Linked DNA regions of Homo sapiens: region 1 is linked to region 2. The links are contacts of gene promoters, found by promoter capture Hi-C in human tissues and cell types (Jung and others, 2019). All regions are on one chromosome and are shown on one strand. The core of a region is centred on a gene start or on the middle of the fragment in contact, and the rest is flanking DNA. Distances in the headings are between cores, read along the strand shown. Region 1 overlaps RERE (arginine-glutamic acid dipeptide repeats). Region 2 holds the start of PARK7 (Parkinsonism associated deglycase).

Region 1 (2,700 bases), core at 25-2,524, 550 kb before region 2:
GCCTCCTGAGTAGCTGGGACTACAGGCGCCTGCCACCACGCCCGGCTAAGTTTTGTATTTTTAGTAGTGTGGGGTTTCACCATGTTGTCCAGGCTGGTCTTGAACTCCTGACGTCAGGTGACCTGCCTGCCTCAGGTGAGCCACCACGCCCGGCCTGTTTGTTTTTTTAAAGACAGTCTAGCTCTGTTTTGCCCAGGCTGGAGTGCAGTGGTGTGATCATAGCTCACTGCAGCCTCAAACTCCAGAGCTCAAGTGATTCTCCTGGCTCAGCCTCCTGAGTAGGTGGGATTATAGGTGCGTGCCACCGTGACCAGCTAATTAAAAAAACATTTTTTATAAAGCCTGTTGCCCAGGCTGGTCTCAAACTCCTGAGCTCAAGCTGTCCTCTTGCCTCAGCGTCCCAGAGTGCTGGGATTCCAGGTGTGCACCACCACGTGTAGTGCTGTGTTGCTTTGAACACAGGATAGAAAGACACCTGAATTTCTGTGAATAGCAATACTAACATGTCTGTTAATATCAAAACATGAATTAAATGCCTTAATACCTAGAAATGAGATAATACTGTAGAGCACCTAGGACAGATAGTAAGTGCTGAAATGTTAGCTACTGTTGTTATTCATCAAAGAAGAAAGCTGGAGTCTTCTAGATGAATTTTAGCCTCCAGCACTTGCTGAAGTTCAGAATGTGCCATAATCAGTGCTTCTCAGAGCATAGCTTGTGGACCTCATTATTATTATTATTATTTCTCTTTTCTTTTCTTGTCTTGTCTTTTCTTTCTTTTCTTTTCTTTCTTTTTTTTTGAGGCGGAGTTTCATTCTTTTTTTGCCCAGGCTGGAGTGCAATGGTGTGACCTCAGCTCACTGTAACCTCTGCCTCCCGGGTTCAAGCAGTTCTCCTGCCTGAGCCTCCCGAGTAGCTAGGATTCAGGCACACACCACCCGGTATGGCTAATTTTGTGTTTTTAGTAGGGATGGGGTTTCACCATGTTGACTAGGCTGGTTTCGAACTCCTGACCTCAGGTGATCCACCTGCCTCGGCCTCCCAAAATGCTGTGATTACAGGCGTGAGCCACCTCGCCCAGCCTATTAGTATTTTTTAATCCCAAGACTTGGCTTCCCGACTTAAAAGTCTTCTGCCCTATACCAAAAGACAGTGATTGTCTTGAGGAGAAGCCTTGGTTCCGTCGAGACATTTGAGTTAGAAGCGAAGCTAGCCACTTTTTTCATGGAATATCAGTTACTCTTTGAAAGAACAACTGACAGACAAACTGTGGTCATTCAGACGTGGGCATTTGGCAGAAACTTTCTTGAAGATGAATTAAGTGAGCTTGTTATTTCAAGGAAAACACTGATACTATTTGACAAGGCTAAGATTTGAACTTTCAAGTAAAAATTAGAATTTCGAAAAGCTTGTACTCACCACTCTGAGCCTGACAGCTTCTCTACACTGAAAGGCATTTCTTATGAGATAGGTGATATTAATATGATTTTTAAAAAATGCTGTATAAAGAACTGGTTGATATTTGAAAGATCTGCAGAACTGAGTAAACTGACATTCTCTATAAAACCAATGCATGACATTACAAAATCACATCTGAGTAGAAGATCCATTCATTCAAAGGCAAGACAGACCAATGGATTTCAGAGTAGCACAGTCAAAAGACTATTGATAGGCTTTTAGACTCACCTTGTGTACACATCTTTAAGAAATGATTACTTGTTGAGTTTTTGTTTTGTTTTGTTTTGTTTTTGAGACAGAGTTTCGCTCTTGTTGCCCAGGCTGGAGTACAATGGCACGATGTTGGCTCACTGCAACCTCTGCCTCCCAGGTTCAAGCAATTCTGCTGCCTCAGGCTCCTGAGTATCTGGGATTGCAAGCATGCAACACCACACCCGGCTAATTTTTTGTATTTTTAGTCGAGACAGGGTTTCACTATGTTGGCCAGGCTAGTCTCGAACTCTTGACCTCAAGTGATCCTCCCACCTCGGCCCCCCAGAGTGCCGGGAACTTGTTGAGTTTTTGGTGTAGTATCAAAAAGGCTATATTCTTCCCTTTTCTAGTTACATCACTGTGTTAGGCTGTATTATCTTCATATAATTTAACCACAACAATATATTGCAGCAGATTGAATTCAAAAGTAGATAGGAGAATCTAGCTGTCTTTTCTATTAAGTCAAATATTAATGAGATTTGCAAAAACATAAAATAATGCCTCACTTTTTACTAAAGGTTTCTGCTTAAATGCAATTACTTTTTATAAGAATATGTATATTGTTATGTAATGGGCTTATTGCTATTTTTAAATCAATATTTTGAAAGTTTTCAAAAATTTAGATTTCTTGGGATGTTCAGTAATTTTTATTTTTATTTTTTGTAATAAGCTTTATTTCTGTTTTGTCCACGGCTTGGGAGAGGGGTCCAGGGTAGTGGCTGGAGGCGCTGCTTAGGCAGTAGCCCTGAACTTTGAGAGGGGCTCCTAAAAGTTTGCTGGGCTCTGTAGGCTCCTCGTGGTGCTTGAGGGTGAGTCTTTTGGAAGAAACATTTACCCAGCCCAGCCTGGGGAGGTTGGTCTGGTAGTCGCCGATCTTGTTGTTGAGTTTCACCTCCTCATCTAGGAAGTGGCTCTCCGGAAGTCACAGAAGATGGGGGTCTGTGCAGGCAGAACCCAGGGCCTAAAGATCGAGGATCTGGTTCAGGTTCT
Region 2 (2,700 bases), core at 23-2,522:
GTATATTTGAAATATTTCATAGAGCACTTTGAATATTTTATTCAAAATGATTTAAAAATCCAAAAACATTTAAAACAGGAATGGCTAAAAATCGATGTGGGACTTACCCCAGCTCGCCTCATGACATCTACAGGGATGACCGTCTCCATTTCCTCTGCTCCTTTAGCCAGGATGACCAGAGCTCTTTTGGAAGCCATTTTTATGTTATATGTTTACAAGCCTTAAAAAAAAAAAAAAAAAAAGATTTCAAAAAACTTTCATTGCAACCCTGAGATACCCCAAAATTTAAAGTTTAGGAGCATTTTCAAGCAGAGTAAGTACTTCCTAGGGAAACGGTTTTCATAGACAACTGAATACGAAAAAAGCAGCAGTTTAGTTATCTTAACGTTGATTTGTATAGCAGTTTTAATTGCTCTGAGATGAAAACATAATGAGGGTGCTAAAAGGTGTAGTATTGCTTAGATTTTCTTCTACCATGTTCTCTTAAATCCAACTTTAATAGTATGTTGCAAATGGGTTTTTTAAAAATACAAGTACGTGGGTCTCCTGCATTTCACACAATGCGGGGAAACAGTCTTTTTTGAAGCACTGTTTCAGAGAAACGACTAAACTGAATTTCATGGGCAAAAATTTAAATGTGGTCTTTCGCAATTAACTTGTAATTTTTTGGAGGGGATTTTTGTTTTCTTAGTTATAACTGTACTAAAAAATTGTGTGTGGGGGTCAACAGTGTTAAATGTCTGAACACTTTTTTTAATGACTGAGAAAGATGGAAATCCCCTCACTGAAGTCAACCCAACTACATCTGTCTCTCTGCGCGGAGTTCTCACTGCCAACGACAGCAGCTCAACGAGGTTCCGAATTTTTTTTAGCCTATTTACAGATTATCTGGAGGGTTTACCGTCCACGCAAAACAGAGTTTAATAAAACGGCTAGCCAGTTCCATGCCGGCGAGAGGTTAGGCAGAAGATTCTGGACGCTTCAGCGTTGCCACCACGCTGGCGGTCAGTCAAATCCAACGCCAGCGACAGGGCCCGACTGGGAGGCCGGAAGCGAGGGCGGCCCCGACCCAGGCCCCGCGCCGGTTCTGAGCCAGCGGGACACCGTCCAGCACAGGGACACCGTCCAGCACCCCCACGCCGCCCAGCGCCACGGCCCACACATGCGCCGCGCCCCCGCTGGCGCTGACCTGCACCCCGCGCCTCTTCCTGCGGACGCGGCGCCCCGGCCCGTTGGGTACCACTCACCCCACACCAGGCTGAAAATGAACGCACGCCAGCACGCACGCGCGCCGTCCGGCCTCCCTCAGCCCCACACTGCGCAGACTCACGCCGCCTTGGCCTCACGCTGCGTCACGTCCGGCCGAGTCTACCTCGGACTGAGGCGGGGGTGGCACCGGGGAGTTTCTAGCTGGACAGCCCTGGGTGAGGCGGCTCGGTCCCACATGGTACCCCCCACGAATGGCACAGTCCGGCCTGCCCCGGCGCCCGCGGGGCTTAACAGTCTCTACCGCCACCCTCCGTGAGGAGCCGGTCTCTGGAACTGCCGAGGGACTGGGGTTGTCAGAGGGGTTCCTTAGTTCGCGCTCCGTGCACGCCTGCTCCCTTTGCGTTGTTCCTTTTCTGGCGCGCCTTCCCGTTTCGCCTCTGGTCTGTTAGGACTCTGGTCCAGGCCTCCCGGACCTCTCCCCCACGCCTGGTCTCCCGATCTCGGGCGACTCTGCCGCATTTATTCACACCCGGATGTCTCAGGGGTGTGAGTTTTTTTCTCAGCATTGTTTGTTTTCTTTAACGATCCTGATGCTGCTGCACCCACAGGACTAGAGCAGTGCTGCGCACATAAGTCTAATAAGTACCAAGTTGGTCAGATGTATTTACATCATAATCTCAAGTTGTATTTATTGATATGTAAGAGACGTATGTGTTTTCTGGGTACATGTGGTATTTTGATACTTTCATATAATGTGTAATGATTAAATCAGGGTAAATGAGATCTCTATCACCTTAAACATTTGTCTTTATACTGGGAACATTCCAGTTACTCTCTTCAATAATAACATTTTAAAATATACAACAGATTACTGTTAACTATAGTCACCCTACAGAACTCTGCCAACGCTAGGTCTTATTCCCTCTTAAGGAGAGCACAGATCACCTGGTGACCATCAAGCAGGCCCCTTATCTGAGGAATTTAGAAGTAATTAGATATCCCTATTATCTAAAGTTGGCACCTGGTACCAGGTTAAATCAAAGGAAATAGTTAAAGCCCAAAATTCTTGAATGAGCTTAGAAGGATCCTGGCTAAATGAACGCAACTTGGATTGAATTTGCAAAAAATGAGACATTCGAAAAGGGACATGAAAAATCCACCGCGGCATGCTCAGTTCTCTCTTGCTGAGGCTGCACTCTTCTGCAGCGTTCTAATAAAACTTTCCTTTTTCAAACCTATATTGTTGTCGATAAATTCTTCTTACCAACCAGCAAGTCGACCACTTTCTGATGCTGGGGCTCTTGACACCTTGCCCAGCACTTCTACCAATTTTTGTACCTATTAATCACCCTGTTCATCCCCTTCTCCTGGCTACCCTTCCTGGCCTCTGGTAACCACCAACTTATCTTCATGATATCCACTTTTCAACTTCCCATTTATGAGTGAAATCATGTGATGCTTGTCTTTCTTTGCCTGGCTTGTTTCACTTAA

What was found. Contacts are between HindIII fragments. The study calls those that stand out against the background at their distance.
Region 1: a fragment that was not itself captured here is called in contact with the fragment with the promoter of PARK7 in region 2 in 1 of the 25 tissues and cell types used here (dorsolateral prefrontal cortex).

The regions. Positions count from the first base shown.
Region 1 is chr1:8,512,831-8,515,530 of GRCh38, reverse strand. The region is part of intron 7 of RERE (arginine-glutamic acid dipeptide repeats); the gene reads left to right. Among named protein-coding and RNA genes, the nearest start is that of SNORD128, 19 kb to the right of the region's middle. The HindIII fragment of the contact is 5,560 bases long and covers 1-2,700 here.
Region 2 is chr1:7,960,283-7,962,982 of GRCh38, reverse strand. PARK7 (Parkinsonism associated deglycase) reads right to left here and starts at 1,272. Exons shown (of 7, transcript NM_007262.5): 1 at 1,190-1,272; 2 at 108-220. The coding sequence starts at 197. RefSeq lists enhancers at 832-891, 942-991, 1,192-1,241, 637-1,420, 1,622-1,721 and 1 more and a silencer at 1,372-1,471. The HindIII fragment of the contact is 29,789 bases long and covers 1-2,700 here.